Linked DNA regions of Homo sapiens: regions 2, 3, 4, 5, 6 and 7 are each linked to region 1. Evidence: promoter capture Hi-C in 16 types of primary human blood cells and fetal thymus (Javierre and others, 2016). All regions are on one chromosome and are shown on one strand. The core of a region is centred on a gene start or on the middle of the fragment in contact, and the rest is flanking DNA. Distances in the headings are between cores, read along the strand shown.

Region 1 (3,366 bases), core at 266-2,765:
CGGGGTCCACTGCCCAAACTTACAGAAAGCAAAACGTGGAAAATTAGTAACTTTAACTGATAGTGTACACCTAAAGAACCTACACCGGCCGGGCGCGGTGGCTCACGCCTGTAATCCCAGCACTTTGGGAGGCCGAGGCGGGAGGATCATTTGAGGTCAAGAGATCGAGACCAGCCTGACCAACATGGTGAAACCCCGTCCCTACTGAAAACACAAAAAAATTAGCCAGGCGTGGTGGCACATGCCTGTAGTTTCAGCTACTCGGGAGGGTGAGGCAGGAGAACTGCTTGAACCCAGGAGACAGAGGTTGCAGTGAGCCGAGATCGCGCCACTGCACTCGTCTGGGAGACAGAGCGAGACTCCGTCTCAAAACAAAAAACAAACAAAAAGAACCCACCCAACAGAATTAAGTACCAACATAATAAATACGAAGAATTTTAGATTCTTGGTTTTTAAAAAACATACAAAGATGATATTCCTTCAAAATATCTTTACAAAACATATTGAGACTGTGATGCTTTATATTGATTGTATGAAAACAATGAAAAAGAACCAGCACTGTTTCACTATAAAAGCTTTACTAATGTAAATTTATAAATCCTTTCTTAAATATTTTGAGTTAATTCTAATTTTATGATAGAAATTCATTATTTTCAGCAAAAACAGCTGGCATTTGGGAAACCAAAGGCTCAAAAACTAAGAATAGTAACCAAAGAAACTTGACAAAACAGTCCTTTTAAAACTCTCATCTACACTATAAGGGGAAACTTTGATCACGTCCCTTCTCCTTCATCAATCGTAGAACTCAACATTAAGGACTACACAATCCCACATCCCTCTCCGAGAAAAAGCAAAGGCTTTGTGTTGTAGCAACAACGCAAGACATGGAGGGAAGCTCCACTCAAGACTTCCCTGCCTGCTCCTTCCCCAAAGCCACTCCAGAATACCAGGGAGGGTTGAGAGGTAAGGCATGAAGGGCGCAATATCCAATATGAGCAACGCGTGTGATGCATCTGGTCAAAATGCATACAGAGGACTTGTCTCTGTCCCTAGATAGAAGTCCTCCGTCCTGCAGTCATGAGGGTCAATTGCTGAGGCTTCACAGTTCCCTTCTCTCTTACACTCGGACCGTCACGCTCCTCACCTACTACCCCGATGCAGAGGTAGACTCAGGATCCCTGCACTTGTCAAGGATTCCTCGGCAAGCTCACGGGGCGGGAGTGGCCACAAGACGGAGCTCGCCTGGTCCTGGCCTTCCCGGCCTATACAAGCCTGCCCCCTTCCCAATTCCCAATCTCCACAGCCTTCCATCCTCCCACTTTCGATTCACCTTGCGCCACCGACGCCCCTGGCCTTCGTTTGCAGCAAGTTTACCCCCACCATTACCTCTCGCATAAAAGCCTGCATTTACCAGGTCAAAGAGGGGAACCAACGCCTGCAGGAATCGCTTCACCGAATCGCCTGGCCGCGTCCTCTGCTAGACTTCACCTGCCGCTGCGGACCGTACACAACCACTCCCGGCATGCCCCGCGCACGCACTACCTCTCCCACCCCGCCCCTCTCCCGCCCAAACACGTGACCTCCTTTCGTCTCCGTCCACGCCCACTTCCGTTCCTCCACTTTCCCTTAGGAAGGAGGAGGGAGCTGGGGGTGTTAAAAGCGTAGCGACTTCCTCCTCCTCCCCGCCCCCGCTCCTGTACCTCCCGCTACAATGTCTTCCGGGTCGCTAGCGCCTCGACGCCTTCTGGGAAAATAGCTCATTTCCTCCCCTCCCCCTCCTCCTGCCTTCAACCAACCAGCCACCCGTCAGAGAGGGACATGCGCAGTGAGTGCCTCCCGTCTCTTCTACCCGAACCCCCCCTCCCCCCCAAGCAGAGAGACCCCAGCAGCAGCAGCAGCTGATGATGAAGAGAGAGGCAGTGGCAGAGGGGGGGCACCTTTTATTTCTATTTTTAAAGGGACAGGACACTAATTCTACCCCACTTCAACCTTGAATTCAGGGGGGTGGGGGGAAGGCGGCTGAGTTCCTTCCCCCACCCTCCAGCCCTGAGCCCTGAGAGGGGGATTGAGCCTGAGAGAGGAGAAGGAGTTTCTTCTTCTTCGAAAACCCCCATCCACGACTCCTACCCCCTCACCCCTCCAACTCGCCTCCCTCCCTCCACCCTCCTCCTCTTTGGCCGTGAGAGGAGGAGAGAAAGAAACCAAAAGCCTCTTAGCAACACAGACCCTTTGCTGCTGCTGTTGCTGCTGCTGCTGCTGTTGCTGCTGCTGCTGCTACTGCTGCTGCTGCTACTGCTGCTGCTTGGCCCTGGCTGGAGACATCTCACTACACCCAGGAGCAGCCACTTCCCCAGCTCTCCTCCTCCTCCTTCGCCTCCTCCTCCTCCACTCCCCCCCTTTATTACCCTTTGTGTCATCCTCCACAGCTCCAGGGAAGGCACTCAAAAGTGGGGGGCAGGAAAGGTAAGTGTGTCTGTGGGGGCTTCATTGCCTTCCTCTGGCTCTGACTTTCACTCCGGGGCAACAGTAGCACCAAACCACATACGCAGTGGAGCTCCGGGGTGAGGAGGGGGTGGTGCTGGGGGGGGTGAAGGAGGGGTTGGAGTAGGGAGGGGTGTGTGAGGTGGGGTGCCCATCCTGTCAGGGGAGGAAGGGCACTTTTATTTTTATTTGCTGTTGTCAAAAGTGGTTTCTCTCCTCCATCTAACATCTGATTGTGTCTTGCTCCAGTGGGGGAGAATACAAAAACAACCCCCTCCTTCCTCCAATGAGGCGCCAGGGAAAGAGACAGAAAGAGGCACACTTTCTAGATGTCACTTAAAAAAAATTCATTGGAGAGCTCTTTTTCTCCAGGAAAAGCTCCACTGCATTTGTTTCTGAGTGGGAAAATGTCGGGATCTGGATTGTATTGGAACTGCTTATCCATTTGTAGACCTGAGTGTTTTCCCCTTTTTGGTCCTGTATGAGATTTGGATATTGACTTCAGTGTTGGAAGACTTGATTGGTTTTTGCTTTAAGGGTTTCATTTTCCATTTTTTCGTTTTGTCTGACTTCCATGGAAAATTTCAAATTTTTAGTTGGTAGAGGCCTTTGGTTAGGTTTTGACTTGCATTATTGCTTTTTTTTTGGTTAAATGTCTGTTTCATATATCAGTATATAAAGTCCAAAGCTCTAAAATGCTTAAAGTTTAAATGCCACTGCTATTGTCTGTTCCCACATACGTTCCTGATACTTATTTTCCATATGATGAGAATATTAGCTATTTTATAATTAATCTGGGTATATTTGTAATCTTTGTAACTTGTCTGAACAAGTAATCCCCATTGAAAACTTTATGTTGTTCTGGCTGCATGGAAGGCCAAACCT
Region 2 (3,366 bases), core at 580-3,079, 880 kb after region 1:
TTATGTATATAATCTCTGCTAAAATAAGAATTGTATTAGGTGCTTGCTATATAGAATATTAATTAAATAGTATTTTTTTCAGAATTCAGATTAGCCTATATAGTTCTTTCGTCATCGAACACCTTTTAATCTTATTTTTTTAAGAGTCAGTGACAAAGCATAGAAAGCCATATCTTACTCTTTCCTTTTAATGTTATTTTTGTTTCAAGACTACTTGCTGCTTTATTGTTAAATACCATTGGCAATGTCAGCTTTTGGATTAACGAAAATGGAACAGGTGAAGTAAAGCAAATTAAAGAGATTTATTTTATTCTCTTAAATGAGAACATCTAGATGTGCTTATGCTTGGCATAAGAAAACAGCTGGGTCCAGGCGTGGTGGCTCATGCCTATAATCCCAGCACTTTGGGAGGCTGAGGAGGGTGAATCACCTAAGGTCAGGATTTCGAGACCAGCCTGGCCAACATGGCAAAACCCCATCTCTACTAAAAATACAAAAAATCAGCCGGGCGTGGTGGTGGGCGCCTGTAATCCCAGCCTCTTGGGAGGCTGAGGCAGGAGAATCGCTTGATTCCAGAAGGCAGAGGTTGCGGTGAGCCGAGGTCGCGCCACTGCTCTCCGCCTGGGCAACAAGAGCAGAACTCCATCTCAAAAAAAAAAAAAAAAAAAAAAAGAAAACAATTGGATAATTACTACTCCTCAGTTACCAACAGACTCCTTAAAAATGGTTGCAATAGATTTCCTCAGCCAAGTCATGGGTATTTCTTTCCTGAATTCCATGAGGTTGGGCTTTCCCTTCTCATATTTCTGTGTATGTCTCCTGTGTTCACAGCTGAATGTAGGGTATGCCTGGGCATTAAGGCAACAGAATGATTTCAGATCTCATGGAAAACAAGTGCTTGGCCACTTCATTCTGCCTAACTTTAAGCTCAGCTCAAACCGATGCAGAGACAATTAAGGTTGGTAGCTGCCCCAGAGTCGGGCTGCTTGGTCAGCTTTATTGAACTGTTTTTCTACTCTTCAGGTACCTTGTTTGATTGCTCTTGGAAAGCTATTTTGCTGATTTTGTGATTTTTTTTCCCCATTTGACTTCTATGCAGCTTAGTTTTCAGTATTCCCCAAAGATGTCTCTATTTTGCCAGTGCCTTCTATTTCTCAGACCTTGGAGCAGATGGTTTTCCTGATAATTTATCTCCCCCTTCATCCTTAAACACATATCATTGTGGACACTCTTTTCCAATAACCCACATTGCCTCACCATTTTCTATTTAAAGCTTACAGTCCAGTGATCTAGTCATGTAGGGAATGCCTATCTGTGATGGTTTTATGCTAAGCCCAAGAAAGGCCTCTGATTTGTTTTCAAAATCTTGGAAATCAAGTCTTAAAATGTTCCTCATTTTTTCCTTCCATGAGTGCAGACAGTCAGCTGACATAGGGGCCTCTCCCTCCCTGCCAACAGAACCCTGGGAATGGCTCTTTCTCATCCCACACTACCCTCGTTTGCCTCTTTACAAGCTTCCTGCCTCCTTTCTGACAGTTACTTTAATTGTAAAATGAAGTTTGCATTCAGTCATTCCCATAGCAACACTGGTCAGAGATCGACACCTTTACTCTCTAATTACAAACTGCCTTTGGGAAAGGGTTTGGCAAATATTTAATTGGTGCTTTGTACTGGAGATGCATTGGGGACAAAGAAATGGAGCTTGGGCTTACAGACCAGAGGGAGAAAGAGAAAATTTCAGAAGTGATTATGGTTCAGTGTTGGAAAGCAAGTGTAGGAGTGGGGCCACAAGGAGGGTACCTGGTCTAGAAGGGGGCAGGTAGGGTGGGGCAGGGACTTGTGTTGGAGGATTCTTCATAGAGAATAGCTCATGAACATTCGTTGCTGCTCTCTGACAGGAACAGAAATCTTAATATCATAAAATACAAAAAACCCCAACAAACCCACATTGCATTACAGTTACAGAAATAAAAATGGTGGTTGCTGAGATGCGGTTGACCAGAAAGGGACATGATACAAGTGCCCTGTTTAGTCTTAGGTGGTTGTTGCGAGATGTTGCGAGGATATCTAATTGTCAAAATCATCTAGTGGAATACTTCACATCTATACATCATTGTATGTAAATAAAAAATAAAGCAATATGAGAAAGCTTTCCATGTACTGATATATGGAAAAGTCTTCAAGATATATTAAGTGGAAGAAGCAAGGTGGAGGCAGGTATATATAACCTGCCACCTTTTGTAGCACAAAGAGGAACAATTAGGGATGTATGGTTGACTGCTTCTGTGTGCACAAAGAAAGAACTCTGGAGAGAGTGGTGAGGCACCAGCAGAAGTGTTGGGGCTGGGAGGTGGTGAGCAGCTGGCAGCTGCAGGAATAGAGGGCAGGGATGTGAGGGAGACGTTTCACTTTTATACTTTATACCTTTAAAAAATCCTTTATACTTTTTGGTATTTGAACTATATGAACATATTTCTCATTCAAGGAAAATAAAAAAAGAAAGCAATATGGAAACCGAACTAAGGAGATTTTAAACTGAGATATAAGATGCTTTCAATTATTCCCAATGACAGGCTATTTATCAATTTAATATTTTTAAGCAACTTCCTCCCATCAGTGCTCTGGGAACCAGCTGGGCAGATGTGGTACACCCATGTCAGATACCCCAGTGGCAGGCTCCTGTCACTGTAGCACTTGGTCCCTCCATCCCTCCCAGCCTTCCTAGCTCCTTGCTCCTGGAAACCTCCCCCCATCAATCTCTGACATTTCAGAGGAAATACTGTTTGTCACCTCTTAAGGAATCTGGAGGACGGCCTGTGAGATATGGCGTCAGTTACAGCCTCTTAAAGAGTCAATAGCCCCTGCAGAGGCCAGAACACTGGAACAAATGTAAGGAAGGTATAGTTTTTAAAGATTTTTGACTTGAATTAAATAGGATTGGTTACTTCTTGCCCCTCCCGAGGGTGGACTGTGCACAGAAGAGACCTCTTCACCGGGTTTGCTGCTCTTTTTCGCACTGTGAGTTGGGGTTCTAACAGTCAGCGTTGGTCCATAACAAAATGGAAATCCTTTCTTTCCCCTCCTGTTAATGCCCCCTGTCTGTGCAGTGACTGTGCAACCAGCACCTTTTGTGGTCGAATCAGCCAGCAGAAGTGCCCCTCGTGTTCCTGGATTCTCTCTTCTGTGGTTCCATTTCTTTGAGTCCTGGGTTCTCGCCCTGAATGGCTCAACAGGGGGAAAGGCAGACAGCTTCTTCGTGCCAGAAACATTTTTTTTTTTTTGAAATAGTGTCTTGCTCTGTTGCCCAGGCTGGAGTGCAGTGGTGCGATCTTGACTCACTGCAATCTCTGCCTCCCAGGTTCAAGT
Region 3 (3,366 bases), core at 651-3,150, 850 kb after region 1:
ACAGGCACGTGCCACCATGCCTGGCTAATTTTTGTATTCTTAGTAGAGACCAGGTTTCACCAGGTTGGTCAGGCTGGTCTCAAACTCCTGACCTCAAGTGATCCACCCATCTCAGCCTCCCAAAGTGCTGGGATTAACATGCGTGAGCCACGGCGCCCGGCCTGTTACCTATCTTTTGGTGTCCCTTTTCAATTGTTTTGAATCCTACTTAGCCCATTTCCTATATTAAGCCTTCTCAGACAACACTGAGAACTTCATCCTCTGTACTCCCACTAGTTTCTAAGCTGCCTGAGGGCGATGACTTATTTTGCAACCTCCCTTCAAATGAGAGGCCCTACGTTATCTCCCTTGAAAAGGGTTCACTTAATAAATCTAAGTTTACAGAGTGACAGCAAATGCCATTTGCTCAGTTAATAGCTGATGAATGAACAGATGAACGAATGAATGATGACTGAACACAGTGACACACAGATACGTCTCTGTCCACTTGAGATAATCCTGACCTCCTCAGATAAACCAGTGTATGCAAGGTTCTGGGCATCTTCTGGTGGGCTCAGGGAAACTGAGAATTGGATTGTCCTCTCTAGTATATTATGAAGTTGATCATTTAAGATGATGGGTCTCTGAGCCAGAGCCTGAGAATTACTTAATTTAAAAACAGATGAGAAGGTGGCACCTGGGTCTTTTTAATCTACTTCCACTGCACATGAGGAGATGAAATAGAACTGGTACTACTTACAAGGGTTTATAAAAGTTGATTTTAGTAGGTCTGTCCTCTCAGCTAGGCAGAGAACACTTGTATTTTCAGGTATTACCCGAATTTAAGCAACAGATGTGTTCCTAAAATTAACTAACTTATTTGTTTTATGATCATTTGTTCAGCACCCAATAACATCTAACTTTCAAGAGCTTATCCTATATACATGTCAGGCACCGTGCTAGGTGCTTTAAAAGCATCTGTCTTTTAATTCCCCCAGAAATCACAAGATGATATTATTCCAATGACAGAGATGAGGAAACTGAGTCTTAAGGAAATTAAGACTTCTTAATTTCCTCCGCTCTTAATTTCCTCCGCCTGTTGGTCATACATCTAATAAGTGGCTGAGGTGGGATTCACACTCATGCATTGCTTCTTCCTAGGGTAGAATCCTTATTCAGTATGCTGCCCACTATGTGCTAGATGCTACAGACACAAAGATATCAAGCAGATATCACCACCCAAGTGCAGTGCTAGAGACAGGCACAGCAGATTAGGGGAACATCAAGGAGGGCCACCAACTCTTTATAGGTGTTTAGTGAGCTGGGAAAGTCTGAGGAAGGAGGGTTGAGCTAGGTCTTAGAGGAAAAGGAAGTTCTGGAAAAATAGAGTGGACACTCAGTTGTTCTGCCAGCCCGGCACCATGTCTGGGAATACCATCCCTCTTCTTTTGGGAACCTTCCCACCAAGGGATTCCTCCATAATCTTACAAAATCCCTGATTCTGGTTGATTGGTTTAGCACTAGATGCCAACCTAAACCAAGGCCAATCAAACCCAAACTCTGAACAGACATCCATCCTTATCTAGTGGTAGAAGTTGAAGGATGAAACCCAGGGGCTATTGGGAGCTGTTTCCCAAGTGATTTTCTTTTGGGATCAGGATGATCCAGACCCAGTTATCTAGAGATTTTAACCGGAAATATTGGATATGACCTCCATCCGGTTCCGGCTTGGGCAGCCAGACCGGACTTGCAGGCTCTTGGAGGTCGCATCCTGTCCTTCCCCCGGCAGGTAGAGTGACTACAAGTCCCGGGATGCGCAGCGCTCGGAGTCGGGCGGGGGCCGGGCGGACCTCTACGGTGACGTCACCGTCCCGGGGCGGGCCAGGGGAGGGCGGGGCGGAGGGGCGGGTCTCAAGGCGGCAGAGCGCGCTGGTGCTGATGCAGGATGGCTGAGCGCGCAGGAGCCCGGGAGGTCTGAGCCGGGCGAGGCTCGCTCCCTGCGCATCGCCTCCTCCGCCCGCCGCGTGGTCGCGGGCAGGTGGGCCGGGGGGCGCTGGGCAGGGGCGGGGCAGGGCCAGGGCAGGCCGGTCTGCAGCCGGAGGGGCCGGAGCGGAGAAGCTGCCCACCTTCCCGGGCTCGGAGCGGCCGGGGCTGCTCAGCCGGCCGGGCTCGCGATGACCTGCTGAGAAGCGTCGTCGGAGGCTGCAGGAGGCGGCCTAGCTGTGGGCGGTGCAGCTCGCGGCCTCCTCCCTCGTCGTTCCCGGCCCCGGCCCCCCACCCATCCCCGTGCCCCCTCCCTACCGCCGGCCGAGATGGCGGATCCAGCCGAATGCAGCATCAAAGTGATGTGCCGGTTCCGGCCCCTCAACGAAGCGGAGATCCTCCGCGGGGACAAATTCATCCCCAAATTTAAAGGCGATGAGACCGTGGTGATCGGGGTAAGTGGCTGGGGCGTCTGCCTTCCCTGCTGCTCCGCGCCGCAGCTGGGCGCCCCGACGCCCCAGACGCAGCGGAGGTGTTTAGGCCGCCCCCTCGGACATTCCCGCGGGGCTGGCCTCTCGGGTGGACCTGACCAGAGACCCCTCGCCCCGCGCACTATGGTTCCCTCCCGGGCGGGTGGAGAGGCGGCCGGGAGCGGCGGGCCGGGCGGGGGTGGCGGGGGTGGGGATGGGGGGCGAAGACGGGCTCGGCGCCGCCATTGTTCGCCGGGTGGGGGCCCGGGTGGGCCCATTGTTCCCCACGCTCGCCTCGCCGCGTGGGTAGTGTGTTCGGGTGACCCTCAAGCCGGGTGCCCAGGCCCCCTTTAAAGTGTGAGCTCTGCAACCCGCAAATGCTTCTGGGCATCAATCAATTCGATTTACCAAACGCCTTGCCTCTTCTTCTCACGACCCTAGCAAAAAAGAAAGAAAAAGGGGTACAGGAAAATTTCTAGTCGCGTCTCGGAGCTCCCGCGGCAGTGTAGACGCGGCTCCCCGCGGTGTTACACCTGGCTCCGCGCGCGGAAGGCGGAGGGTTGGGGGAGTACTGGTGGCCTCGGTGTCCCCTGGAGGCCTGGTGTGTCTCCCGCTTCCTCTCACGCCTGGCTGCCCTGGATGTGGAGTCCCGGCTTGATCCCTCCCCTCTGGGATGACCTCCCTCCCATGTCTGCAGACCCTCTGATGCGCCTCACGCTGGGTGGAGAGGAGGCTGTGTCCACATCTGTGGGGCGAGGGGGCTCAGAGCGCAGTAGCCCCCTGTGCCAAGAGCAGAAGTTACTTCGTGCGGCTCGGACCCCCCTCCCTCTCTATCTCCCTTCCCCACCTTTTCTCCCCCACCCCCTCCCCCTACTTAGCTCCCTCTCTGCAGCTGGGGCTGCTGGTAGGGGGAGGGAACACCAATGGATTGTAG
Region 4 (3,366 bases), core at 231-2,730, 840 kb after region 1:
GCCTATAGGTATCCTCAAACTCTATTAAATGAGAAGACACCTTTTGATGCTCTCTCTTGCCACTCTTACTCAGTATAGTATTGGGACAGGCAACAGAAAGAAATAAAGCACATCCAAATAGGAAGAGAGGAAGGCAAATCATCCCTGTTTGCAGTCGACATGATCCTATATATAGAAAACTCCACAGTCTTGGCCCAAAAGCTCCTTAAGCTGATTAACAACTTCAGCAAAGTCTCAGAATTAAAAAAAAATCAGTGCACAAAAATCACTACCATTCCTATACACCAACAATAGTCAAGCCAAAACAATTCCATTCATAACTGCCACAAAAAGAATAAAATACTAGGAATACAGCTAATCAGGGAGGTGAAAGATTTCTACAATGAGAACTACAAAACACTGCTCAAAGAAATCAGACAGGACACAAACAAAAGGAAAAACATTCCATGTTCAAGGAGAGGAAGAATCAATATTGTTAAAATGCCCATACTCCCCAAAGCAATTTATAGATTTAATGCTATTATTTTAAAAATAACATTGAGATTCCTTATAGTGCTAGAAAAAACTGTTTAAAAAATTCATATGCAACCAAAAAAGAGCTTGAATAGCCAAGGAAGTCCTAAGCAAAAGAGCAAAGCTAAAGACATCAGGTTACCTGACTTCAAACTATGCTACGGGGCTACAGTAACCAAAACAGCAGGGTACTTGTATGAAAACTGACACACAGACTAATAGAACAGAATAAAGAGCCCAGAACTAAAGCCACACACCTACAACTATCTGATATTTGGCAAATCTGACAAAAACAAGCAATGGGGAAAGCACTGTCTATTCAATAACTGGAGCTGGGATAGCTGGCTAGCCATATGTGGAAGATTGAAATTGGACCCCTTCCTTACACCATATACAAAAATTAACTCAAGATGGATTAAAGACTTAAATGTAAAACCCAAACATATAAAAACCCTAGGAGACAACCTAGGCAATACCATTCTGGACACAGGAATAGGCAAAGATTTCATAATGAAGACACCAAAAGCAATTGCAAGAAAAGCAAAAATTGGGATCTAATTTTCTCCAAAATTTTGTCTAAAAATTAGACAAATGGGATTTAATTAAACTAGAGAGCTTCTGCACAGCAAAAGAAACTATCAATAGAGTAGACAGAAAACCTACAGAATGGGAGAAAATTTTTGCAAACTATGCGTCTGATAAAGGTCTAATATCCAGCATCTATAGGGAACTTAAATTTACAAGGAAAAAACAACTCTGTTGAAAAGTGGGCAAAGAACATGAACCAACACTTCTCAAAAGAAGATACATGCAGCCAACAAGCATATGAAAAAGCTGAACATCACCAATCATTAGAGAAATGCAAGTCAAGACCATAATGTGATACCATCTCATGCCAGTAAGAATGGCTATTATTAAACAGTAAAAACAAAAAACAAAAAACAGGTGCTGGCGAGGTTGTGGAGAAAAAAGAAATGCTTATACACTATTGGTGGGAATGTAAATTAGTTCAACCATTGTGGAAAACAGTGTGGTGATTCCTCAAAGACCTAAAAACAGAAACACCATTTGACCCAGCAATCCCATTACTGGGTATATACCCAAAGGAATATCAATCATTCTATCATAAAGACACACCCACACGTATGTTCATCAGAGCACTATTCACAATAGTAAAGACCTAAGTCAACCTAAATGCTCATCAGTGGTAGACTGAATAGAGAGAATGTGGCACATACACACCATAGAATACTATCAGCCATACAGAAGAATGAGATCATGTCCCTTGCAGGAACATGGATGGAGCTAAAGGCCATTATCCTTAGCAAAGTAATGCAGGGAACAGAAAACCAAATACTGCATATTCTCACTTATAAATTGGTAGCTAAATGATGAGAACACATAAACAGATAGAGGGGAAAAATACACATTGGGGAGTTTCAGAGGGTGGAGAATGGGAGGAAGGAGAAGATCGGGAAAATAACTTATGGGTTCTAGGCTTAACACCTGGGCGATGAAATAATCTGTACAACAAACCCCCATGGCACAAGTTTACTTACGTAACCAACCTGCACATGTACCCCTGAACTTAAAAGTTAAATTTTAAAAAAGACATATTTTAAAAAAATCTATTACTAAGGCTTGCATGAAATTTTGAGATAGGAAGAGAATAGGCTACAAAGAGAGTACTGCAGGCAGAACCAGAACCTTTCACACAACCACCTCCCCATTACCCCTTCTGTTTTCCTTCCTTCCTTTTTTGCTCCCTCCCTCCCTCCCTCCCTCCCTCCCTCCCTTCCTTCCTTCCTTCCTTCTGTACATAGTTGCATGGATGTCTCCCATAAATGGTGTCCATGAGTCCACACCTGTTTTAGTCTGCTCAAATTGCCATAACAAAATATCTTCGACTGGGTGGCTTAAACCAAAGGAAGTTATTTTCTTACAGTTTGGGAGGCTGGAAGTCCAAGGTCAAGGTGCCAGCATGGTTAGTTTCTGGGGAGAGCCCTCTTCCTGGCTTGGAGAAGGTACCAGCTCACTGTGTCCTCACATGGCATGGAGAGAGAGAGGGAGCTTTCTCTCTTCTTATAAAGCCACAGCCCTATTAGATTAGGGCCCTTCCCTTAACTCATTGAACCTCAATTACCTCCCGTGGCTTGAAGATTAGGACTTCAACATATTATTTTAGAGGGGGAACATAATTTAGTCCATAACAACATCCTTTGCCCTAAAACTTTGTGGCTTGATTTGGCCAGTGTCAGCAAATGCAAAGCAGAGGTGTAAATGGTACAAGCACATTCCCACTTGACCTCCTGCACACTTGGGCTTGCTCACTCCTGCACCTCTACCTTGCCATGAGAACACATCTCAGCCAGCCTCATTGAGTGATGCGAGAGACATGTGGAGAAGAGCCAAGATCATCTTAGAACAAGCTGACGGGCCAGCTGATCCCCTAAAATGTGAGTGAGCCCAGCCAAGGTCACCTGAGCTGGGGCTTCTTCAGCAGAACTGCCCAGCTGACCCATGGATTGGTGAGAATAAAAAATGGTTGTTTCAGGACACTGAATTTTGGAGTGGTTCGTTACACAGCAATAGCTAACGAATATCCTTTCTCTGTTCCTTCTTTTTCTTTTTCAAAATATGTTTATGTGTATGTGTACCTTTTTTCTACATTTCTTCTGTTAGAGTTTAAGGACTGAATCATATCTCCAAATCTCCTTTAATTCCTGATCACCTGAACTAGAATGCTACCCTTAGTCCTCTCTAGCCTTTCACCTTTCTTTACTTTTCTTCATGGCATTTTTTGCCGCTTGACATACTATGTCATATGCTTACTTGTCCATTGTTTACCTCCTC
Region 5 (3,366 bases), core at 496-2,995, 800 kb after region 1:
CATGTCTCCTGTTTCTAGAGAATCTGTGAGTATAATAAACTTCTTCCTTCAGCCAGGTGCAGTGGCTCACGTCTGTAATCCCAGCACTTTGGGAAGCCAAGGCAGGAGGATCACTTGAGCTCAGGAGTTCAAGACCAGTCTGGTGGTCTTGAACCTGGTTTCAACATGGTGAATCCCTTCTCTACTAAAAACACAAAAAAATTAGCCAGGCGTGGTGGCACAGGCCTGTAGTCCCAGCTACTGGGTGGGGTGGAGGTGGGAGGATCACCTGGGCCAGGAAACTGGAGGCTGCAGTGAGCTGAGATTGTGTCACTACACTCCAGCCTGGGTGACAAAGTGAGACCCTGTCTCAAAAACAAACAAACAAGCAAACAAAAACAACCAAAAAACCTTTCTTCATAATGAAATCGCCTTTGTAAAATTTGTGACAATGAGAGAAATCTGACAGAAATTATGGCAATGAGAAAAATCTGACCCAAATGACTCCGTCTTGCTTCTAATCTCACAAGCTAACTGCCTTTGCTCCTTCCTGGGTGTAGGCCAAGCTAAACAGGAGAGGAATTTAGTTTATAGTTTCACTTTAAAACAAAGATCATAACTGCCCCTTCCTGAAACTAACCCCCACCTTGCTCAGGGACCAAAATTGCCTTTGTAAAACCAATAAAAAATTAGCAACGAGGATAGAATGGGGTTTAGTAGTTGTGTGGCCAGAGGTCACAAGATTTGTAACCTCCCCCAAACGCTTCTATAGAGAACACCACTTTTGTAAAAACTAAAACTGGCATCTGAGGTACCTTTCAGACCTTGCATTCTGATAGACCAGCTGGCACCACCCGGACCAGTAACCCATACCATGGAACTGGCTCGACTGGTCTTATGACCCCCACCCCGGAATGGACTCAGCACAAGAAGATAGCTTCGACCCCCATGATTTCAGCCTCCAACCTACCAATCAGCACTCCCCATTCCTTGGCTGCCTGCCCACCAAATGATCCCTGAAAAACTCTAGCCTCCAAATTCTTGGGGAGATGGATTTAAGAGCTAACTCTCATTCTTCCACTTGGCTGGCCCTGTGATTATTAAACTGTTTATTTGCTGCAAAAAAACAAAAAAAAAAAAACCAAAAAAAAAAAACCGCTGCTATTCTCAGTGCATTGGCTTTGGCAATTACAATGAGTCATTTCGGTGTCTGTGTGTCTTACCAGACCTGATCAGAACAAATCCCTTAAAACACCTTGTTCTGGAGCTCATCTTCTCTTTCATCTACTGCCCCCCTCAACCCTGGCATTCGCCTTCATATCTCTTCTTTGCTCTGAGGATGAAGCTTCTATTTATTTCAGCTCCTGTTTCCTGAGCAGGGCTACCATGTACTGTTGTGCAGGTTGTACACAGCAGCCAGTTAGGGTTGATCTCCGGACTGATCCTGAGATCCTCCCTGTGGCCATCTCACCTAACTCTATCCCACCATGTAACCCTTCCAGACGCATTTGCAGACCCCATGCCTGTGAAACAGAGGGCAGGATCCTATTCAGGCAGCTGCTTTATCATTGCACTGGGTGGATCCTGCTTCCACAGGGAAGGCAGAAAAGATGTGCTCCTCTACCTCCTCAGCCTCTCTGCCTCCGGTGTTCTCACCTTCACCCCCTCCACCTCCACTCCCATCCCCATTTACACTAGGGAGGAAATGACTGCAATAGCTTAAAGCAGGGTCCTTCCCTGCCGCCCTCCTGCCTGTAATCCAGCAGGGCTCAAAATTTCCAAGATGATTTTCTGGAGTCCAGACTACGTCAATGGTTCTCAAACTTTAAATTGAATTAGAATCACCTGGAGGACTTGTTAAAATGCAGATTACTGCCCCCCCCACCCCCCCCACTGCACCCCACCAAGTTTCTGACTCAGAAAGTCTGAGACAAGCCCTGGGAATCTGCATTTTTACTACATCCCAGGTGATGCTGTTGTCTCAGAGACCATACTTTGAAAACCACTGCTCTAGATGCAGTGCTTCAGGCCTCAGCTGCTACTCGAGGTGCCCCTGAACCCTGTCTTCATTCCGGAAACAAGCCTCTCTGTTCTGCAACGCATGGTGCCTGAGCTTTCTGGGGAGAGATTCTGTTCTGAGGTGGATTATTTTGTTCCCCCTCAGCAGTTCTTACACATTGCTCAATGAAAGCTTGTTGGCCAGGAACAAATATCCAATATTGTTCTATATACGCTGTGGTTTTAAACATTTTTACATTTTTTTTTAGAGACAGGTTCTTGCTTTGTCGCCCACGCTGGAGCAGTGGCACAATCATAGCTCACTGCAGCTTCCACATCCTGGGCTCAAATGATCCTCCCACTTCAGCTTCCAAGTAGCTGAGACTACAGGTGTGCCATCTCACCAGGTTGATTTTTAAAAATTCTTCGTCGAGACAGGATCTTGCTTTGTTGCCCAGGCTGGTCTTGAGCTACTACTGGCTTTGAGCGTCCTCCTGCCTTAGCCTCCCAAAGTGCTGGGATTATAGGTGTGAGCCACCATACCTAGCCGTCTGTGTTGTTTTTCATTTGTTTGTTTTTTGTTTGTTTGTTTTTGAGACAAAGTCTCACTCTTGTCCCCCAGGCTGGAGTGCAATGGCACGATCTCGGCTCACTGCAACCTCCGCCTCCCAGGTTCAAGCGATTCTCCTGCCTCAGTCTCCCGAGTAGCTGGGATTACAGGTGCCTGCCACCACGCCCCGTTAATTTTTGTATTTTTAGTAGAGACAGGGTTTCACCATGTTGGCCAGGCTGGTCTCGAGCTCCTGACCTCAGGTGATCCACCCTCCTTGGTCTCCCAAAGTGCTGGGATTACAGGCATCAGCCACCGTGCCTGGCCGCTGTCTGTGTTTTTGACACTGAAGTGATGGTGGTAATTTTCAAAGCTCTACAGAAATACTCATTAAATTCCCCCTACCCTCAGCTGAGTGAGACTAGGGTTCTGATTCTAGGACAAATAAGGATCTTTGGGGCTCATTGCTATGAGCTATAAATGTCCCAGGGAGAAAAATCAAGTAGGGTCTTATTTTAGAGAAACCTATCTCTGCCTGGCTCTCTCTCCTTTCCCACTTGATAAAGATATTGGCTTTTCAGAACTCCCAGCTCAGCTTCTGAAAGCCACAGTGGTATGAGTGGAGCACTGAAAAGAAAAGCAGGAACCCCTCCCCCACTTGGTGCCAGCTTTCCTTGGAGAGCGGGGAAGCATCATTAAATGACAGCAAGTTGAAAATTGTCAGCGAGATAGGCTATTTGCATGCGACATTGAAACCTCTATGCAATCGTCATTTCCGAGTTGTGACTGCCTGTCTGCAAGGACACATTGGATGGTTCCCAGATCACTGCAGCCTCCAA
Region 6 (3,366 bases), core at 637-3,136, 760 kb after region 1:
CTTGCTCAAGGACTAGGGCTGTAGGACTTAGTAACTAGGACTTAGTAACCAGTTTTATACAGAATCAAGGAGGAATGGCCATTTAACTTTACTTTGTTTGCTTTTTCTGAGTCTCCTGGTTAACCAACCAAAAGTATTTTCATCCTATTTCAGGGTTAGGCCAAGATAGGTTTTCACATTGTGACAAAAATGTCTATTAATCATCTCTATGATTTCATTTTATCCAAGTATGTAGTTTTTCAAGCATTTTTAAAACCATTCATTAATATTTTTTGGAAAAATTAATAGAACATTAAAGCCTTGGGTTATTTAATCTCTAGTTCTTTCTCAGAAATAACTTCTCAGTTTTTGTTCGTTTCCCTGCTTCATATGCCAAAAATCATCTATGGAATCGTAGATCGCTTAATCTAAACACTTGTAATTGTTCAAGGTTAGAAAGGCAACAGCCTCTTGGGTTTGCCCCATCCCTTAATATGTTCATAAAATCACATCTAAAAATTAGAGTGTTTAACTTTGTTCATTTTATAGGGCTCAAGCACCTCTGACTGTATGTCTAAAACACTTGACTCAGCCAGCGCCCACTTTGCTGCATCTGCAGTGGTCAGTGCACCTGTTCCAAGTCGCAGTGAGGTAGCCAAGGAACAGAACACTGGCCACAACAACATAAACGGTGTTGTCCAGCCTTCAGGTACAGCTGGGGTTTCACATGGTACCTACTTTCTTGAAGTTGTAACTCAGTGATTGGGAGTTTGTTTTTTGTTTTTTTATCCAAGGGGAAAATGTGTATAAGTCAATCAGGACTCTTTAGGATTTCTTTGGAAAGATAGTGGGAAATAGGTAGATGTTTTCTAGAATTCATGTAGAATCTACTCCTTGTTTTCTCCCTCATCCATTGAATACATACCTGTGTAACATTCTACCCTTCCTGGTTTCATTCACATACTGTCAGTTGCCTCACATCTTAGGAAATCTGTTGAGCTAACCATCCCCATTGAATCATGCATGCATTGATAAAAAAGTGAAAGATAATCCAGGACAGTAATAAATTGGAAATCAGATTTGCCTTCCCACTCTTACATACTGCTCATAGGCATACTAACTCTGGCTCCCGCTCTTTAGATAGAGTATTGCTGTGAAACCCTGTGTGCTTCTTAGTACCCTGAGTCCGCAAAGACTTGTTATTCCTATCATCCTTCAACTACCTCTCAGACCCTAGGATTTTCCAGTTGCTTTTATATATACCCATGAACCTGATTGTCCATTTTTACTAATATTCATGCATGTGTACATACTTAGGGAAACCCAACTGTCATTTCCATCTGTCCTGTTATACTTAACTCCACAGTTGCCAGATACAGGCAGCAGAATACTTTGCAAAGCCGTTTTATGTAGACCAGTAGAAAGAGGGTGTTTTGGGGGTTGTAGCAGATTAGTACATTCTACTTAGTGATCAGAAGCTCCCTTTGGAGAGACCAGTGTGTGAAAAGTTAACTTGGCATTCAATTCAAATACAAATGTTCGTATTTATTTTATTAAGCTTCTAAAAATAGTTGTATTGATGTCTCATGATACTAGTTGAATGACTTCTTTCTTTTTCAGGAACCTCTAAAACATTATACTCCACCAATATGGCTTTATCATCCAGCCCAGGGATTTCAGCTGTACAGCTTGTAAGGACAGTTGGCCACACCACTACAAACCACTTAATCCCAGCATTGTGCACAAGCAGTCCTCAGACACTTCCCATGAACAATTCCTGCCTGACAAATGCAGTGCACCTCAATAATGTCAGTGTTGTTTCTCCAGTCAATGTGCATATCAATACACGGACTTCAGCACCATCGCCAACAGCCTTAAAACTTGCCACAGTTGCTGCCAGTATGGACAGAGTGCCAAAGGTTACTCCCAGCAGTGCCATCAGCAGCATAGCAAGGTGTGTGTGTGTGTTTCAGTGATTTTTCTCCCTTTGTGCTGGCTGTCCTGTGGGAAGAAAAAGACTTTTTTTTACACTGCTCAAGCAATAGGTGTTTATTGACAGACTTGATTTTCAATAGATACTGAAGATCTGTATAAAGCTCTGTGACTTAGGTATTTGTTTAAGGTGCCTAGTAGGATGCTTAAATGCCAACCTAGTAGGATTGTTAGAGAAAGACAGAGTAGTAGTAGAGAGAGAGAGAGAGAAAGGAAAAGAAAGAAAAGGACATCCAACTGTCAAACACATCAGAGTCTATGTTAGAAGCTTCAGTTACTCTTCCCCCCACTGCCCGCCCCACCCCCGAGATGGAGTCTTGCTGTCTTGCCCAGGCTGGAGTGCAATGGCGCAATCTCAGCTCACTGCAGCCTCCGCCTCCCAGGTTCAAGCGATTGTCCTGCCTCAGCCTCCCAAGTAGCTGGGATTATAGGCACATGCCACCATGCCTGGCTAATTTTTGTATTTTTAGTAGAGACGGGGTTTCACCATGTTGGCCGGGATAGTCTCAATCTCCTGACCTGGTGATCCACCCGCCTCAGCCTCCCAAAGTGCTGGGATTACAAGTGTGAAGTTCCTCTTGTATTAATGTTTTATAGTTTAGGCAGTCTGGAAGATGGGAGTTGTTATGATTAACTCCATGCCAGAGTTTAGGTTTCACATCCAAATTTGTGTTTTCTTTAGCGTCATACACAAAGGGAAAGTAAATTACCTTATTTACTTTTATGGATTACTACGGACATCCATAGTATATTTTAGAATGTTTTTATATTTCTTTCTATGACACTAATACAAGGAGAACAATGAATCAGAAAAAAATTGATTTGCATAGGTTAATAAATACATGATCTTAAGCCTATAGAATTAAACTCTAATGGAAAGTAATTTCAGTAATATTGTGCTCCTAATGATTATTCTTTTTGAGTGTCATATGCTTCATCTCTCGAGAAAAAAAAAAGAAAAACTTGGTTTGTCCTGTGATACATATTTCATAAGTAATTTCTCATTGGCTTCTACTGAAATGCCATGTTAAATTATTATCTTTCCTAAGTAAATAGCCATAATAAAAAAATTAGGAATTAATGGAATTTCTGAGCTGAAGAAAAGTTTTTCTCATTCCTATCTAGAAATGGCAAAAATGGGAATTGTTCTTGTGAAGTCATGTTTAGTTGTAATTATGTAACAATGTTTTTGTAAAATACTAAATGGTAACGTCATGTTCTAGAGAGTATTGATATTTATTTTATCCTTTGCCTTATTACCATAGAGAGAACCACGAACCAGAAAGATTGGGCTTAAATGGAATAGCAGAGACAACAGTAGCTATGGAAGTGACATAACCTAAAACACGTGGCTCTGACCTGTGCTGATGGTGTGCAGTCATTCATATTCCAGCT
Region 7 (3,366 bases), core at 562-3,061, 740 kb after region 1:
GAAACTATTTCAAAACAAAAAGGTTTTGTTTTTGTTTTTTATTTGTTTTTTAAAAAAAGGACAAGACTGGGGAAAGGAAAGTTAGGAACGATAATTATTTGGGCATAAAGAGAACAGAGGCTGGGGGCAGTGGCTCATGCCTGTAATCCCAGGACTTTGGGAGGCCAAGGTGGGCAGATCATTTGAGGTCAGGAGTTTGAGACCAGCCTGCTCAACATGGTGAAATCCCATCTCTTCTAAAAATACAAAAAATAGCTGGGTGTGATGGTGGATTCGTGTAATCCCAGCTACTGAGGCTGAGGGAGGAGGGAGGCTGAGGCAGGAGAATCGCTTGAACCTGGGAGGCAGAGGTTGCAGTGAGCTGAGATCACACCACTGCACTCCAGCCTGGGCAACAGAGTGAGACTCTGTCTCACATACACACAAACACACACACACAAAAGCAAAACAAGATATGAATAAGACAGGGTAGAACCTCCAAGAGGAACACTTACTGAACAGGGGAGCCATCTAAAAGGTTCTGGTGCACTTTTGAATATTATTCAGCTGCCAGCTGGCATGTAACCTCATATTATTATCTGCCTTACAATTCTGTATATCTGTTTTCTGTCTGTCATCCTTACTAGATTCTAAGCCTTTTGAGGGTAAGGGACATGTGCAATACCCTGCACAGTGTAGGCACTTTAATAGTTGCTGTCGAAAATATTAATTTTTTTAATTGAAAGGTATTATTGCTGCCTGTTTAAAAAAATGCTTAAACATATGCTTTAGATTTACCTTTTGTCATAGTAATGAAGAAGAAAAAGATGAATTTTTTAAAATTACACAAAAGGATGACTTATTTTTAATATTCGATGTGGAATACCATAATGGGACTTAGTGTAGGTTATTTTTAATATATGACTATTATTTTTCAAATGCAGGAAACTATACACAAAAGAAAAAGAGTATAACTTTGACTTTTTCTCAATTGTTATTTTTCTCTTTTATAATCCTCCAATATGAAACCTTTGGTATTCCTTAGGTTCTTTCTAATGTCATTTCAGATTATTAAATCAAGGCATGAATGATTGCTTAAGTACAGTTCACTCTGGATGCATAGATTGGAGAGGTGGTAGTGGTCTATTTTTAAACAAATAGTTCCATGCCTAATAGTAAAGTGAGGAATCTGTGGATGTTTAACAAAATAGTTTATATTAGTAATAATTTTATATGCAAATAGATGCTACTAATTACAACTGAGCCTTTTCTAGTTATGTAGCAGGGCTTTCACTTTGTATAATAATTAGTTGAAAAGCTAATAAACAGTGTTCTGAAATTCAGTATTTTTGCTAAATCTCTTTTCTACTCAGCAGTGGAGTGTTACATTTACATTGAAAATTGACAGTCCGATTTCTTGAAATGGTTGTTATCCTACTTTCAGTTTTCTGAGTTTCTGAAGTGAAGCTTTACTGGTCATTGTTCATGTTCACATAATAGTACAGTGTATCAAACCATCCAGCCCCCAGTTACAGAGCTGGAGATGGATGGATGAATGGATGAGGGGACTCATTTTGACTGTTACCTTGATCTGGACAGAACTGTTCCTCTCTGTCATTGGAAAATACTTTCCTACACGCTGAATGGACTACATTTTCTGATAACAGATTTTGTTTCAGGTGGACATTTTTTGTTTGTTTACATTGAAATTATCTCTTTATGCCATTCTACCTTTTCAACAGCTGGCAACATTTTTTTTCTGAGTGTCGAGAGATACTTGCTTGTACTTATATTTTCAGAGTTAAATAGTTATAGGTTATCTTACATAGGTTGCTGTTCAGATTTTTTTTAACATTTTACTTTTATAGGATAAATTCAGGTCTGATAAGAGTTTATTGAATAAAGCCGGAAATGTAGATAACTGTGTTGTTTATTCTTCTAAAATTATTATTTTTAATAGAATCGTAAGAATGATGAAGCCTCTTATGAAAAGATGTTGAAACTGAGACGAGAATTTAGTAGAGCCATAACAATTTTGGAAATGATTAAGAGAAGAGAGAAAACAAAACGAGAATTATTGCACTTAACCTTAGAAGTTGTGGAGAAAAGGTAACATTGCTCCTGTTACAACAGTAAAATGACAACTTTACCAAATGATGGGCAAAATGAACCAAAAGATTTTTAGGGGGGAACAGGTTAAGCTTTATGACAGTTGATATTGATTCTGTAAGAATTTATATTTTTTAAAGATTTGTGGTTACTAGTTTTTATAGATTAAGTTATCAATTTGGATTGCAGATTTTGGGAGAGTTTTGTGTATACTGTAGATCCTATACTTAATTTTGTTTTGGCAGAATCATTGAATTTTATTTAGTAAAGAACTCTAGTGATCATATTGTTTACTTCTCTGTATTAAATTTTCTATTAAATCTGAGGGAAATAAGTATTGATTTTATTTTCTGAGTAGGTAGACATTTTTCGTTTCAACTCCTTTTAGAAATGTGTGCTCTAATATAGTATATTTTCCTACAAAATTAAATAGACTAAACAAAAACAGAATTTTGTATGATTCCTGGAGTAAGCATTCTAAACATTTCCTAGTGCTTGATTATATAATATATGTAAGAAATTTGTTTGCTGTGTACCTTAGGCCTTTTTTAGTTTTTTGGTTTGTTTTGTTTTTACCAAATCCCTGTTTCTTTATTCCTGCAAATTTTATCTTTTAAAAGTAATTTGATTGTTAGCCCTTTTTGACTAGGTGACTTCCAATTAATTGAGGTATCACTTATTTTCCTTCTTTATTGTCAAACTATGCAATGTTTTCTTATATTTTTGTTACCTTTTCAAGATACCATTTGGGAGACTATGGTGGTGAAATCCTTAATGAAGTAAAAATCAGTAGATCAGAAAAAGAGTTATATGCCACTCCAGCAACTCTTCATAATGGAAATCATCACAAAGTTCAAGAATGTAAAACTAAGGTGAATATTGTCTGGGAAGAAGCATGTATGGATGGTAATGTTGATCAGAGGAGTTATTGATTTCTGCAGTTGTCTTAATATGGTTTGAGTAAAGAAAAAGTAATTAACGTGACTTTAGTTCTTACCATGAGCCAAGCACTTTGCTAGGAGTATTTATATACATACTGACCAATTAATCCTCATAACAACCCTTAGAGATAGTTGTTGCATCTGTGTGACTTCTATATAATAGCTAGTAAGTGGCAGATTCAAGGTTTCAGTTCAGGTCTAATAGTCCGTCATGTTCAATATGCTATCTGCCTCCCTAGGGAATAAAGGTAATTAAAGTCTAGTTATTATCACTAGCCTTAGCAAACCTTGCATTGTAATGGAAGGAATCAACACCTCAAAGCTTTCTTCATTGAGA

The links. The method cuts DNA at HindIII sites, captures the fragments that hold promoters and counts their contacts. A CHiCAGO score of 5 or more calls a contact.
Region 2: a fragment that was not itself captured here is called in contact with the fragment with the promoter of ORC4 in region 1 in 1 of 17 cell types (total CD4 T cells); the score reaches 7.5 in total CD4 T cells.
Region 3: the fragment with the promoter of KIF5C here is called in contact with the fragment with the promoter of ORC4 in region 1 in 9 of 17 cell types (non-activated CD4 T cells, total CD4 T cells, activated CD4 T cells and 6 more); the score reaches 17.9 in non-activated CD4 T cells.
Region 4: a fragment that was not itself captured here is called in contact with the fragment with the promoter of ORC4 in region 1 in 1 of 17 cell types (naive CD8 T cells); the score reaches 6.3 in naive CD8 T cells.
Region 5: a contact is called between a fragment that was not itself captured here and the fragment with the promoter of ORC4 in region 1, in 1 of 17 cell types (activated CD4 T cells). The highest score is 5.1, in activated CD4 T cells.
Region 6: a contact is called between a fragment that was not itself captured here and the fragment with the promoter of ORC4 in region 1, in 7 of 17 cell types (total CD4 T cells, non-activated CD4 T cells, naive CD8 T cells and 4 more). The highest score is 7.7, in total CD4 T cells.
Region 7: a contact is called between a fragment that was not itself captured here and the fragment with the promoter of ORC4 in region 1, in 8 of 17 cell types (naive CD4 T cells, total CD4 T cells, fetal thymus and 5 more). The highest score is 13.7, in naive CD4 T cells.

The regions. Positions count from the first base shown.
Region 1 is chr2:148,019,222-148,022,587 of GRCh38, forward strand. It overlaps ORC4 (origin recognition complex subunit 4), which reads right to left and starts at 1,516. Exons shown (of 14, transcript NM_181741.4): 1 at 1,412-1,516. It overlaps MBD5 (methyl-CpG binding domain protein 5), which reads left to right and starts at 1,870. Exons shown (of 14, transcript NM_001378120.1): 1 at 1,870-2,463. RefSeq lists enhancers at 1,161-1,758, 1,938-2,037 and a silencer at 1,428-1,587. The HindIII fragment of the contact is 3,631 bases long and covers 574-3,366 here.
Region 2 is chr2:148,899,054-148,902,419 of GRCh38, forward strand. All of the region lies in intron 1 of KIF5C (kinesin family member 5C), which reads left to right. Among named protein-coding and RNA genes, the nearest start is that of KIF5C-AS1, 5.7 kb to the left of the region's middle. The HindIII fragment of the contact is 635 bases long and covers 1,513-2,147 here.
Region 3 is chr2:148,873,327-148,876,692 of GRCh38, forward strand. It overlaps KIF5C (kinesin family member 5C), which reads left to right and starts at 1,901. Exons shown (of 26, transcript NM_004522.3): 1 at 1,901-2,417. The coding sequence starts at 2,292. KIF5C-AS1 (KIF5C antisense RNA 1) reads right to left here. Exons shown (of 4, transcript XR_001739733.2): 4 at 1-2,869. RefSeq lists a silencer at 1,725-2,194 and enhancers at 2,567-3,145, 3,146-3,366. The HindIII fragment of the contact is 10,493 bases long and covers 1-3,366 here.
Region 4 is chr2:148,856,434-148,859,799 of GRCh38, forward strand. LOC101928526 (a long non-coding RNA gene) reads left to right here. Exons shown (of 2, transcript XR_244868.1): 1 at 1-1,411; 2 at 2,766-3,069. Among named protein-coding and RNA genes, the nearest start is that of KIF5C, 17 kb to the right of the region's middle. The HindIII fragment of the contact is 4,757 bases long and covers 1-3,366 here.
Region 5 is chr2:148,814,077-148,817,442 of GRCh38, forward strand. No RefSeq gene overlaps it. Among named protein-coding and RNA genes, the nearest start is that of KIF5C, 59 kb to the right of the region's middle. The HindIII fragment of the contact is 846 bases long and covers 1,323-2,168 here.
Region 6 is chr2:148,783,069-148,786,434 of GRCh38, forward strand. EPC2 (enhancer of polycomb 2) reads left to right here. Exons shown (of 14, transcript NM_015630.4): 12 at 529-688; 13 at 1,600-1,933; 14 at 3,237-3,366. The coding sequence ends at 3,309. Among named protein-coding and RNA genes, the nearest start is that of KIF5C, 90 kb to the right of the region's middle. The HindIII fragment of the contact is 702 bases long and covers 1,536-2,237 here.
Region 7 is chr2:148,759,843-148,763,208 of GRCh38, forward strand. It overlaps EPC2 (enhancer of polycomb 2), which reads left to right. Exons shown (of 14, transcript NM_015630.4): 5 at 1,940-2,088; 6 at 2,828-2,960. Among named protein-coding and RNA genes, the nearest start is that of KIF5C, 110 kb to the right of the region's middle. The HindIII fragment of the contact is 734 bases long and covers 1,445-2,178 here.